Linked DNA regions of Homo sapiens: regions 1, 3 and 4 are each linked to region 2. The links are contacts of gene promoters, found by promoter capture Hi-C in human tissues and cell types (Jung and others, 2019). All regions are on one chromosome and are shown on one strand. The core of a region is centred on a gene start or on the middle of the fragment in contact, and the rest is flanking DNA. Distances in the headings are between cores, read along the strand shown. Region 1 has its middle 49 kb from the start of TOP3B. Region 2 holds the start of RAB36 (RAB36, member RAS oncogene family). Region 3 has its middle 31 kb from the start of TOP3B. Region 4 has its middle 71 kb from the start of TOP3B.

The links. The method cuts DNA at HindIII sites, captures the fragments that hold promoters and counts their contacts. A contact is called where the count stands out against the background at its distance.
Region 1: a fragment that was not itself captured here is called in contact with the fragment with the promoter of RAB36 in region 2 in 1 of the 25 tissues and cell types used here (lymphoblastoid cells).
Region 3: a contact is called between a fragment that was not itself captured here and the fragment with the promoter of RAB36 in region 2, in 2 of the 25 tissues and cell types used here (hippocampus and lymphoblastoid cells).
Region 4: a fragment that was not itself captured here is called in contact with the fragment with the promoter of RAB36 in region 2 in 1 of the 25 tissues and cell types used here (hippocampus).

What each region holds. Positions count from the first base shown.
Region 1 is chr22:22,029,987-22,033,294 of GRCh38, forward strand. It overlaps the pseudogene PRAMENP, IGL, IGLV4-69 and the pseudogene IGLVI-68. Among named protein-coding and RNA genes, the nearest start is that of TOP3B, 49 kb to the left of the region's middle. RefSeq lists enhancers at 211-991, 369-628, 992-1,771, 1,069-1,148, 1,289-1,348 and a silencer at 1,419-1,538. The HindIII fragment of the contact is 9,029 bases long and covers 1-3,308 here.
Region 2 is chr22:23,143,854-23,147,173 of GRCh38, forward strand. It overlaps RAB36 (RAB36, member RAS oncogene family), which reads left to right and starts at 1,624. Exons shown (of 11, transcript NM_004914.5): 1 at 1,624-1,698; 2 at 2,752-2,832. The coding sequence starts at 2,764. It also overlaps a transcript of RSPH14 not described here. RefSeq lists a silencer at 1,377-1,446. The HindIII fragment of the contact is 15,551 bases long and covers 1-3,320 here.
Region 3 is chr22:22,011,614-22,015,243 of GRCh38, forward strand. It overlaps the pseudogene PRAMENP. Among named protein-coding and RNA genes, the nearest start is that of TOP3B, 31 kb to the left of the region's middle. The HindIII fragment of the contact is 6,044 bases long and covers 1-3,630 here.
Region 4 is chr22:22,051,848-22,055,111 of GRCh38, forward strand. It overlaps IGL. Among named protein-coding and RNA genes, the nearest start is that of TOP3B, 71 kb to the left of the region's middle. The HindIII fragment of the contact is 5,123 bases long and covers 1-3,264 here.

The sequences.
Region 1 (3,308 bases), core at 752-3,251, 1.1 Mb before region 2:
AACACCAACTGATGTAAAAATCATTGTTTTATGTACTCAGTTTTCCTTTGAGTTTACCCTCTTTTCTCTACTTTTTAAAATATTTATTTCTAATTTGGGGAGCTACTAACTGAGATTATTTTTCATCTCACTGAAAAACAGTTTTAGAATTTCCTGTAGAGCAGTTCTGCTGGTGGCAAATTCCATCGGGTTTTGTCTGAAAAGTAGCCATTTTCTCCTATTTTTTCTGTTTATTATATAGAAAGATAACTTATATAAAGTAAAATTCACAGGTCTTAATTATACAGTTTGATGGTTTTTACAAATGCAGATGCTCATGTAGCCAACAGTCCGATCCATTCTCACAACATCTCCATTACTGCAGAATGGAGACATTCTGTTCCAGTCAATGTAAATTATCCCATTACACCTACCAAATAGAACGTGTATGAGAGACACCTTTCTCCTGAGGACTTTTGCAAAGTGGGGTGGATCATGTGTCCCGCTCCCACTGAAAAGGGCTAAATGGAAAACTAAAGTCTGAAATAAAATAGGAGGCTGCCCTGACGAGGGGTCCCACTTTGCCCTTGGACAGAGAACAGGCCGTGGTCAAGGCCCTGGTCCGGGCAGAAGCCTCTGTCAGGACCCACTGGCATCTGGTCACAGACACGATGGACCTGGGCCTAGGCAGAAGGGGGTGCTGTTGGTCTGCTGCTGAGGGCTCTGTGGGTTTCTCAGCTGGGAAACCAAACACTTGAACTTGGTCTCCACGCAGGGTTCACTGGGGCCAGCAGCTGGGCTCTCTCTGCACCCTTGGAGAGCCTCAGGCCAGGCCCAGCCCAGGTAACCCCTCCCAGAAATGTCACCCCACCACTGGGACTGACACTCAGGCACACGGAGTGATTTGGTTGGGCAGAGGAAGAGGAGCACATTTGCATGAAGGGCCCCTCTCTCTCCTCTGGGACTACAGGGTGGGTAAGAAATACCTGCAACTGTCAGCCTCAGCAGAGCTCTGGGGAGTCTGCACCATGGCTTGGACCCCACTCCTCTTCCTCACCCTCCTCCTCCACTGCACAGGTCAGGATGGCCCTCAGCACCCTGACCTCCAGCTCACTGATACCACCTCCCAAACTTATGCCAGGAATGTCCTTCCCTCTTTTCTTGACTCCAGCCGGTAATGGGTGTCTGTGTTTTCAGGGTCTCTCTCCCAGCTTGTGCTGACTCAATCGCCCTCTGCCTCTGCCTCCCTGGGAGCCTCGGTCAAGCTCACCTGCACTCTGAGCAGTGGGCACAGCAGCTACGCCATCGCATGGCATCAGCAGCAGCCAGAGAAGGGCCCTCGGTACTTGATGAAGCTTAACAGTGATGGCAGCCACAGCAAGGGGGACGGGATCCCTGATCGCTTCTCAGGCTCCAGCTCTGGGGCTGAGCGCTACCTCACCATCTCCAGCCTCCAGTCTGAGGATGAGGCTGACTATTACTGTCAGACCTGGGGCACTGGCATTCACACAGTGACACAGGCAGATGAGGAAGTGGGACAGAAACCTCAGCCTGCTCAGGGTCTTGTTATATGACAAGTTTTAAATTTTCAAATATGTTTTATATGTACACACTCCACTTGGAAGCACCGTCTGGTTTAAAATGTTTCTACTCTCAATTTCTCATTCAAGTTTTCTGAAGTCTCAGGAAAACTAAAAACAGAAACAAAAATATCATGATGACTATGAAATATTACCTAATTTTCCAAATATGCTGAATTCAGTGCCTGTGGAGCTAACCATTTTCTCTTGACAGAAGAAAAATGAGCCTTAGAAATTGTTTCCAAATCCTGAAAGAGTCATCATTCCATGTACTCAGGACAGATTTAGAGAGTGCTGACCCTGCCCTTTGAAAGATGTTATTTGCCTCTTAGTGCCCAAATAAGGAAGGATAATTAGGAATCAGAAGCCTACCTAGGGCTCCCCTCTCTCCTCTCAAAATTGCACTTGGTGTCATATTGCCCTAGAATTTATGCCTGGTGCTGGCAAATATTTTTAAATTTATTTTTTAATCTTTTCCTTTTCTGCAATCAAATTTCTTGAGGGGCTGAGAAGAAGAAATAGGCCCAGAGAGAAGCAAGGCAGTCTGGGTGCAGGCTCTAGACAGCCCAGGGAGAAGAAAGAGGGAGCAGCTCCCTGTGTCCTGGAGGGAGCCCTGTCCCCATTGGGCTTCCTGCTCTGATGTCCCCTAGTGGAGGCTCCTCAGGGAGTCCAGCCTCCCAGAACTGCCCTATAAACCTCACAGTGAGCTAAGCAAGTATATCCAGGAAGGAGGGTCTGTGGAGATGTGAGACTAAGGTGTGTTATGGCCTAAACACTGCCCATCTCCATCCTTCTTGGGGATGACAAAGTGAACAGTGGAGGAGACAGGATACATGGGTGCATCTGGACCTCAAGCAGTAGGCTGTTCTGTGGTCTGTCCCTAAATCTTGTGCTGGAGACCCCATACGAGAGCCACTCCCTGACCCTGGGCTGGAGCCCTCTACCCCCTGCTCACAAGACCAGCAGCTGTTTCCTTATAGGCCCCCAGGGAGCCACAGAACAGCATCAACCAAGACCATCCTCTTCATGTGTCAGCTTTTCAGGGAGGGATCGAAGTCATGGCCCAGGAAAGGGCTTGGACAGCCCAGGGGAGGAGGCTGGTTGGTATGAAGGATGCCCTCCTCACCCTGAGCTGCTGGAGGGAGTACAAGGGACTTGGAGAGCCCAGGCTCAGTTGATGATCCTCAGGATGTAGAGCTATGTATGGGTCTCCACTGTGGTCTCTCCCCCGCCTTCTCCTTCACTGCACAGGTGGCTAGGGCTCAGTGTCAGGGCTGGTGATCAAAAGACCAAGGTTTATGCATGTGTCTCTGTCCACTGACCCACCTCTCACCCTGTGTCTGTCTTAATGTCCAGCGTCCTGAGCCCAGCCTGTGCTGACCCAGCCACCTGCAGTGCATGCATCTGTGGGGCAGGTGGGTACCAGCTCCTGCACTAGAAGCAGCAGCAATGTTGGGCACGGGCATGTGCTCTGGTACAAACATGCCTCCGAGAGACCCAGAGCTCCACATATATAAAAGCAGTCATTGACCCTTAGGGGCATAGGCCCAATGCTGAGGCTCCAGGTTGGAGAACATGGCCTCTCTGAGCATCTCTGGACTCCAGGCAGAGGAAAAGGCTGATTTTTATTCTCAGCTTGGGACACAAGCACCAAGGCTCAGGCAGTACTTCAGGCCAGTGGGGAAGTGGGAGAAAAAGCTGCTGCCCATCCAGCAATGGAGCTTCTCTGTGCAGCCCCCACTTCTTGGG
Region 2 (3,320 bases), core at 374-2,873:
GCCAAGGCCGGCGGATCACATGAGGCCAGGAGTTCAAAACCAGCCTGGCACACATGGCAAAACCCCATCTCTACTAAAAAAATTTAAAAATTAGCCAAGCATGGTTGGTGCGCACCTGTGGTCCCAGCTACTCGGGAGGCTGAGGCAGGAGAATCGCTTGAGCCGGGAGGCGGAGATTGCAGTGAGCCGAGATCACACTACTGCACTCCAGCCTGGGCGACAGAGTGAGACTCCATCTCAAAAAAAAAAAAAAAAAAAAAAAAAAAACAGCTAAAGGAGGAGTTCAGGGTGATCTCTAGCTCCTGCCAAATCCCCAAATCCAAATTAGTAAGTGACCCCACAGCTTAATCTTCCCTTCTCCTAAATCCCATTGGCACACTCCCTTCCCCTAATTCTCTATTTACTTCTCTGCTTCCCGCAGTGGACTCCAATTTCCCTGAGGGTGGACACCATGTCCGTTCTCTTTCCTTGTCTCCCCAGTGCTAGGCATATACCAGGAAGCTTTCAGTACATGTAGGACAAATGAATAGTTAATGGACTTGAATCAAGCTTTACAGTATAAAAGCACTTTCACCATCTCAGGTGATCCATTGAAATAGATAGTTGCGTTTATTTTATAGTTGAGTAAACTGAGGTGCGGAAGGTGGAACAACTCACCTAAGTTCACCCCCTAAGCCTCAACCTTAGCAGTGAAACTCACTAAAAGACATTAAACAGAGCCAGGTGTGGTGGCCCTTGCCTGTAGTCCCAAGGACTGGGGAGGCTGAGGCGGGAGGATTCCTTGAGCCTAGGAGTTCGAGTCCAGCCTGGACAACATAGCAAGACTCCATCTCTTTAAAAAAAAAAAAAAAAGACATCAAACACCAGCCTCCAGCACACTTAGCTTTGAATTGAAGATGACTGAGTTAGATCTGTGTACCAAGGCTTCCATATTGTGATGCAGAAAAGTTAAGGAGCTGAATTAAGTAGGTTCTCAAACTGAACCCCGGACTTCGAAGCTGGTTCCACGGTTTTATAAGGGCCACAAGAGGCCATCTAGCCCAAAACAGCTAACTTTCCAAACCGAAACTAGTTCAGAGGAAATCACTGACTCAGGTCAGCTTTTTATTAAGGAAATTAATTTTGTACCGTGAGCTCTAGAAGCCAGGCATATGATATTCAGACAGCACTGGATTCAGAACTATGCAGACTAAGGTCAGTAGATGGTAGGCAGGTCTATCTTCTGCAGCTGCAGGGTGCTTGACTCCAATTAAACATCAATACCACATCAGGAGCTCTTATGCCATAACCGCCCAACCTCTCCCAGCCGAGCTGATCACCAGAACCTGCGCGAATCTCTCCACGGTCAGCCCCACCCAGGGCTCAGGCTCCGCCCCCGGGCCTCCATAGCCCCGCCCACCGCCCACCCATCCAGCACCGCCCTTGTTGTCATGGTGATCTCCGGCTCTCCAGGGTGTCCAGGAGTCTCTCTGCTGCCAGCCCCGCCCAGACTCCAGGCAGGTTCTCGTTGCTATGGTGATCGCCGGTGCAAGCTGGATGCTTGGACGCGCCGCTGCCAGTCCAACGCAGACCCCGCCCACGACGTCGACGATTCGTGTAGCCCGCAGGTCCCGCGTGGCTCTCGTTGCCATGGTGATCGCCGCCGCTGGCTCAGGCGGACCAGGCCGCGCGGAGCCCCAGCTTTCACAGCCATCGCTGGTGAGTCAGCTCGCCCACTCTGTCCGACCCTCCCGGTCACCCAACCCCGTGCTGGCACATCCCGAGGCCAGGGCCGCGAGGGCACAGCGTCCGCGCCCACTTCCCGCCCCTATAACTTGAAAGCGGCCTGCGGCCCCGGGGCGTCCTCATTTCCGGAGCGCAAACTCTGGGCCAGGCCCGCGCTGGTTGTGGAGGAGAGCCAGGTCAGATGCGGGAAGACAACCGGACTCCGCCAGGACCACCCCAGCCCAGCCTGGAGAGGAGTCCGGACAGAAAAAGGAGACAGAGGGGCTGTTGAGGAGGCTCGAGGAGTCAGAGGCCTGGTGAAGTGAGGGTTTTCAGGGAAAAGGCCTAGTTGGCTGAAAGTTAAGGCCCCCAGGCCCACCTAGAGCCTTCGTCCTTTGCAGACTGGGAGCAGGAGACCCCTCCCCACTCTACTTCCACTGCCTGAGCTGTGCCATGCCTCACAGCCCAGTAAGGTAAGCTCAGAGGGGAGCTCCTCCTTGGTAGACACCTGTCAAGGGGAGACCCAGGTCTTCTGACTCCCAGGCAGGGTGGGGCAGGCCTGGTTCCCCCATACCATGCTGCCTGCTGTATGCAGATTGAGAGAAATGGCCTCTGCCCCATATTCCTGACAGAGAGGGAAGCCTGGATCTGGTTTTATTTATAATTCTTGAGACAAGGTCTTACTCTATCACCCAGGCTGGAGTGCAGTGGCACCTTCACGGTTCACTGCACCCTTGACCTCCCAGGCTCAAGCATTCCTCCCACCTTCCTCCCAAGTAGCTGGGACTGCAGGCACAGGCCACCATGCCCTGCTAATTTTTTTGGTTTTTTTTTGTAGAGACTGAGGTTTCACTTTGTTGCCCAGGCTGGTCTCAACCTCCTGGGCCCAAGTGATCCTCCCACCTTGGCCTCCCAAAGTGCTGGGATTACAGGCATGAGCCACTGCACCCAGCCTGGATCTGATGAAAAGTTAGGTGGAAACTCATGGGTGAATCCCCAGGTATTTGCACAGCTCCTTAACTGTCTTTCTCCTGGTTGGGTCCACAGGACTGTGGAAGAATGAGGTCCTCCCTGACACCTTTGGGGCCCCCTGTGAGCCGCGACCGTGTCATCGCCAGCTTCCCTAAGGTAGAGAGTCATTACGTCTGCAGTGCTCTCCTGGCCCTGCAGCCACATCAGCTCTCCCCACTCTACACTCATGCCTAGAAGTAAAGCAGGTGAATCAAGGAGGTCTGTCCATTGTCAGATTTACCTTGAGGAGCTGGGAGACTGGTCACTGACTGCCCAAGGTGGGACCGCAAGTTAATGGTGACACTGGGCAGCAGTGTGGCCTGGAGGTTATAAGGGCTGGGATTTTGCAGCCAGACAGTCCTTGATGTGAATCCTTCATTCTGATTCTGTCATTAAGCTGTGTGGCTGTGGGCAAATTACTCAACCTCTCAGAGCCACTGTTACATGAAGGTAATTCCTCTCATATTGGGTGCCTGGCTCATGGTATGCAGGAGCTCCCCTGCAGTCATAGTTGCTGTTGTTCTCATCATCGTTGTTGTTATCAAAACAGCATTCCAGTTCCATGACCCCAAATCCAGGGCTCTCTCCTCTTGCCATTCCGCCTC
Region 3 (3,630 bases), core at 291-2,790, 1.1 Mb before region 2:
GCCCCGCCTCCCGAGTTCACACCATTCTCCTGCCTCAGCCTCCTGAGCAGCTGGGACTACAGGCGCCCGCCACCATGCCTGGCTATTTCTCTTTTTTTTTGTATTTTTAGTAGAGACAGGGTTTCACCATGTTAGCCAGGATGGTCTCGATCTCCTGACCTCGTGATCCGCCTGCCTTGGCCTCCCAGAGTGTTGGGATTACAGGCGTGAGCCACCGCGCCCGGCCAATTCTGTTCTTTTTAAATTATTTTATTATTATTATTATTATTTTGTAGAGACAGGGTTTTGCCATGTTTCCCAGGCTGGTCTTGAATTCCTGATCTCAAGCAGTCCTCCTGCCTCAGCCTCCCAGAGTGTTAGGATTACAGGCATGAGCCATTGCACCTGGCCAGTTCTGTTCTTTTTTTTAATTATTTTTATTATTTTTTAAAAATTATTATTATTATACTTTAAGTTTTAGGGTACACGTGCAAGAGAGACTACAGTAAGTCCTCAGTGTCATCACTAGGTTCTTGGAAACTGCAACTCTAAGCAAAATGACATACATATGGCCATGAATAATGTCCATTTGTTCAATGTCATTTCCTTACAATGGTGATGAGGAAAAAAAAGTTGGTTTTGCTTAAAGTCATAGTCAATAGTTTCCAAGAACCTATTGATGTTAAGTGAGGACTTACTGTATTTAACCAGAACCTAACCTGTTAGGGTTTTATCAGAGCCTAATGACCTGGAAGAAGAGAAAACCTCAGCTCCAGCCAGCTGTAGCCATCCTTTCCCACCTAACTGGGGAGAAGAACTGGGAAGCACCTGTGAAGTTCACAGTCCAGAGGCACAAGCTCACTAAAAGATCAAGACCTAGTCATGAAAATACTGACTACTTTCCTCCCCTCACACCTTACCATATTACTAAAAGCCTATTTATTACAGTTCTTTTTATCCTATACGTCATGTTGGGCTATCAAGAAAAAATTACAGGCTGGATGCAGTGGTTCACACCTGTAAATCCCAGCACTTGGGAGGCTGAGGCGGGTGGATCACTGAGGCCAGGGGTTCAAGATCAGCCTGGCTAACATGGCAAAACCCGTCTCTACTAAAAATACAAAAAATTAGCCGGGCATGGTGGCGCACGCCTGTAATCCCAGCTACTCGGGAGGCTGAGGTAGGAGAATAGCTTGAACTCAGGAGGCAGAGGTTGCAGTGAACTGAGATTGTGCCACTGCATTCCAGCCTGGGTAATACAGTGAGACTGTGTCTCAAAAAAAACCAAACCAAAACAAACAAAACCCCCCGAAATATATAAGAACTCATACAACTCAACAGCAAAAACAGAACAATTAAGAAATGGATAGGCCTGGTGCAGTGGCTCACGCCTGTAATCCCAGCACATTGGGAGGCCAAGGCAGGTGGATCACAAAGTCAGGAGTTCGAGACCAGCCTGGGCCAACATGGTGAAACCCCGTCCCTACTAAAAATACAAAAATTAGCTGGGCATGGTGGCGGGTGCCTGTAGTTCCAGCTACTCGGGAGGCTGAGGCAGGAGAATTGCTTGAACCTGGGAGGCGGAGGTTGTAGTGAGCTGAGATCGCACCGTTGCACTGCAGCCTGGGCAACAAGAGCAAAACTCCATCTCAAAAAAAAAAAAAAAGTATAAAGGACCTAAATAGACATTTTTCAAAAGAAGATACGTAAATAGTCCACAGATACATGAAAATATGCTCAACATCATTAATCATCAGAGAAATACAAATTAAAGCCACAGTGAAATGTCACCTCATACCTGTTAGGATGGCTATTATAAAAAAGTCAAAAGATAACAAGTGTTGGTGAGAACATGGAGAAAAGGGAACCCTTGTACATTATTACTGGGAATATAAATTCATATAGCTTTTATGAAAAAACAGTATGAAGATTCCTCAAAAAATTAAAAGTAGAAGTACCATATGATCCAGCAATCATATTTTTGGGTACGTGTCCACAGGAATAAAATCACTGTCAAGAAGAGGTATCTTCACTCCCATGTTCACTGCAGTGTAATTTATTGCAGTATTGTTTACAATAGCCAAGAAACGGAAACAACCTAAGTGTTCATTGACAGACGAATGGATAAAGAACATGTGGTATATATACACAATGGAATATTATTCAGCCCTAAAGAAGAGGAGAAAAATTTGGACCCAAAGAGAGAGGGATGACAAGCATGTGACGATGGAGGCAAAGGTTGGAGTTACATTGCCACAAGCCAAGGAATGTCTGCAGAGACCCAAAGGGTGTAATAGGCAAGGAAAGATCCTTTGCTAGAGATTTCAAAGGATGTATGGTTCTTTAACACCTAATTTCACATTTCTAGCCTCTAGGACTCTGAGAACAAATTTTGGTTTTAAGCCACTCAGTTGGGTACTTCTCTATGGCATCACTAGGACATGAATACACTACCCAAAGTGACTTACAGATTCAATGCAATCCCTATCAAAATCCCCATAGTGTGGCTGGGTGTGGTGGCTCACGCCGATAATCCCAGTATTTTGGGAGGCTGAGGCAGGCGATCACCTTAGGTCAGGAGTTTGAGACCAGTCTGGCTAACATGGCAAAACCTTGTCTCTACCAAAAATACAAAAATTAGCTGGGAGTGGTGGTGCACACCTGTAATCCCAGCTACTTGGGAGGCTGAGGCAGGAGAATCGCTTGAACCCGGGAGACAGAGACTACAGTGAGCCAAGATTGCGCCATGGCACTCCAGCCTGGGCAACACAGCGAGACTTCATCTTAAAAAAAAAAAAATCTCTACGGTGTTAGGCAAAAGATGGAAAAACTCATCCTAAAATTGATATGTAATTTCAAGGGATCCTAAATGGCTGAAACAATCTTGAAAAAGAACAAAAGTTGGGAGAACCCAATTTCCCAATTTCAAAACTTACTGCAGACTGCGTGCAGTGGCCCATGCCTATAATCCCAGCACTTTGGGAAGTCGAGGTGGGAGGACTGCTTGAATCCAGGCATTTGAGACAGCCTATGTAATAAAACGAGACCGTCTTTACCAACCTCCCCCCACCACCAAAACAAAAAACAATCGGGAGGCTGAGGCAGGAGGATCACTTGAGCTCAGGAGGAGGAGGCTGCAGTGAGTCATAGTCATGCCACTGCACGCCAGCCTGGGTGACAGAGCAAGACCCTGTTCCCCCAAAATTAAAAAACTTACTATGAAGCTGCAGTAATCATAAAAGTGCAGTACTCGTTAAGGTAGACACATAGACCAATGGAATAGAATGGAGAGCCCAGAAATAAACTCTCGCATCTATGATCATTTGATTTTCAACAAGGGTGCCAAGCCTATTCAATGGGGGAAAGAACAGTCTTGTCAACAAAGAAACTGTTGGGAAAACAGGATATACACATATAAAAAAATGAAGTTGGACTCTTTCTACTGTATACAAAAATTAACTAAAAATGGATTGAAGACCTAAATATAAAGGTTAAAAGTACAAAACTTTTAGAAGAAAACATAGAGACAAATCTTCATGACTTTGAATTTGGCAATGGTTTTTTTTTTAACTTTTTAATTTTATTAAAAAAAAAAATAGAGACCATGTCTCGCTATGTTACCCAAGCTGGTCTTGAACTCCTGGGATCAAG
Region 4 (3,264 bases), core at 294-2,793, 1.1 Mb before region 2:
ATTCTGGATATTAGCCCTTTGTCAGGTGGGTAGATTGCAAAGATTTTCTCCCATTCTGTAGGTTGCCTGTTCACTCTGATAATAGCTTCTTTTGCTGTGCAGAAGCTCTTTAGTTTAATTAGATCCCACTTGTCAATTTTGGCTTTTGTTGCCATTGCTTTTGGTATTTTAGTCATGAAGTCTTTGCCCATGCCAATGTCCTGAATGGTATTGCCTAGGTTTTCTTCTAGGGTTTTTTATGGTGTTAGGTCTTTTTTTTTTTTTTTTCTTTGAGACAGAGTCTCGCTCTGTAGCCCAGGCTGGAGTACAGTGGCGTGATCTCGGCTCACTGCAAGCTCCGCCTCCCGGGTTCCTGCATTCTCTTGCCTCAGCCTCCCAAGTAGCTGGGACTACAGGCACCTGCCACTGCGCCCGGCTAATTTTTTTTTGTATTTTTAAATAGAGACGTGGTTTCACCGTGTTACCCAGGATGGTCTCGATCTCCTGACCTTGTGATCTGCCCGCCTCGGCCTCCCAAAGTGCTGGGATTACAGGCGTGAGCCACCGTGCCCGGCCATGGTGTTAGGTCTTCATTCAAGTCTTTAATCCATCTTGAGTTAATTTTTGTATACTGTGTAAGGAAGACATCCAGTTTCAGCTTTCTACATATGGCTAGCCAGTTTTCCCAGCACCATTTATTAAAGGGGGAATCCTTTCCTCATTGCTTTTTTTAGTCAGGTTTGTCAAAAATCAGATGATTGTAGATGCGTGGTGTTATTTCTGAGGCCTCTGTTCTGTTCCATTCGTCTATATATATGTTTTGGTACCAGTACCATGCTGTTTTGGTTACTGTAGACTTGTAGTATAGTTTGAAGTCAGGTAGCATGATGCCTCCAGCTTTGTTCTTTTTGCTTAGGATTGTCTTGGCTATGCAGGCTCTTTTTAGGTTCCATATGAACTTTAAAGTAGTTTTTTCCAATTCTGTGAAGAAAGTCAGTGGTAGCTTGATGGGGATAGCATTGAATCTATAAATTACCTTGGGCAGTATGGCCATTTTCATGATATTGGTTATTCTTATCTATGAGCATGGAATGTTCTTCCATTTGTTTGTGTCCCCTTTTATTTCATCGAGCAGTGGTTTGTAGTTCTCCTTGAAGAGGTCCTTCACATTCCTTGTAAGTTGGATTCCTAGGTATTTTATTCTCTTTGTATTAATTGTGAGTGGGAGTTCACTCATGATTTGGCTCTCTGTTAGTCTACTATTGGTGTATAGGAATGCTTGTGATTTTTGCACATTGATTTTGTATCCTGTGACCTTACTGAAGTTGCTAATTAGCTTATGGAGATTTTGGGCTGAGATGATGGGGTTTTCCAAATATACAATCTTGTCATCTGCAAACGGAGACAATTTGACTTCGTCTTTTCCCAGTTGAATACCCTTTATTTCTTTCTCTTGCCTGATTGCTCTAGCCAGAACTTCCAACACTGTGTTGAATAGGAGAGGGCATCCTTGTCTTGTGCTGGTTTTCAAACAGAATGCTTCCAGTTTTTGCCCATTCAGTATGATATTGGCTGTGGGTTTGTCATAAATAGCTCTTATTATTTTGAGATATATTCCATCAATACCTAGTTTATTGAGAGTTTTTAGCATGAAGGGCTGTTGAATTTTGTCGAAGGCCTTTTCTGCATCTATTGAGGTAATCATGTGGTTTTTGTCGCTGGTTCTGTTTATGTGATGGATTACATTTATTGATTTGCATATGTTGAACCAGCCTTGCATCCTAGGGATGAAGCTGACTTGATCGTGGTGGATAACCTTTTTGATGTGCTGTTGGATTTGGTTTGCCAGTATTTTATTGAGGATTTTCGCATCAATGTTCATCAGGGATATTGGCCTAAAATTCTCTTTTTTTGTTGTGTCTCTACCAGGCTTTGGTATCAAGATGATGCTAGCCTCCTAAAATGAGTTAGGGAGGATTCCCTCTTTTTCTATTGATTGAAATAGTTTTAGAAGGAATGGTACCAGCTCCTCTTTGTACCTCTGGTAGAATTCGGCTGTGAGTCTGTCTGGTCCTGGACTTTTTTTGGTTGGTAGGCTATCAATTATTGCCTCAATTTCAGAACCTGTTATTGGTCTATTAAGAGATTCAGCCTCTTCCTGGTTTAGTCTTGGGAGGGTGTATGTGTACAGGAATTTATCCATTTCTTCTAGATTTTCTAGTTTTCTTGTGTAGAGGTTCTTATAGTATTCTGATGGCAGTTTGTATTTCTGTGGGATGGGTGGTGATATCTCCTTTATCATTTTTTGTTGTGTCTATTTGATTCTTCTCTCTTTTCTTCTTTATTAGTGTTGCTAGCGGTTTATCAATTTTGTTGATCTTTTCAAAAAACCAGCTCCTGGATTCATTGATTTTTTGAAGGGTTTTTTGTGTCTCTATCTCCTTCAGTTCTGCTCTGATCTTAGTTATGTCTTGCCTTCTACTAGCTTTTGAATGTGTTTGCTCTTGCTTCTCTAATTCTTTTAATTGTGATGTTAGGGTGTCGATTTGAGATCTTTCCTGCTTTCTCTTGTTGGCATTTAGTGCTATAAATTTCCCTCTACACACTGCTTTAAACGTGTCCCAGAGATTCTAGTACGTTGTGTCTTTGTTCTCATTGGTTTCAAATAACGTCTTTATTTCTGCCTTCATTTCGTTATGTACCCAGTAGTCATTCAGGAGCAGGTTTTTCAGTTTCCATTAGTTGAGTGGTTTTGAGTGAGTTTCTTAATCCTGAGTTCTAGTTTGATTGCACTGTGGTCCGAGAGACAGTTTTTTGTGATTTCTTTTCTTTTACATTTGCTGAGGAGTGTTTTACTACCAATTATGTGGTCAATTTTAGAATAAGTGCGATGTGGTGCTGAGAAGAATGCATATTCTGTTGATTTGGGGTGTAGAGTTCTGTAGGTGTCTATTAGGTCTGCATGGTCCAGAGCTGAGCTCAAGTCCTGGATATCCTTGTTAACCTTCTGTCTCATTGATCTGTCTAACATTGACAGTAGGATGTTAAAGCCTTCCATTATTATTGTGTGGGAGTCTAAGTCTCTTTGTAGGTCTCTAAGGACTTGCTTTATGAATCTGGGTGCTCCTGTATTGGGTGCATATATATTTAGGATAGTTAGCTCTTCTTGTTGAATTGATCCCTTTACTATTATGTAGTGGCTTTCTTTGTCTCTTTTGATCTTTGTTGGTTTAAAGTCTGTTTTATCAAAGACTAGGATTGCAACCCCTGCTTTTTTTTTGCTTT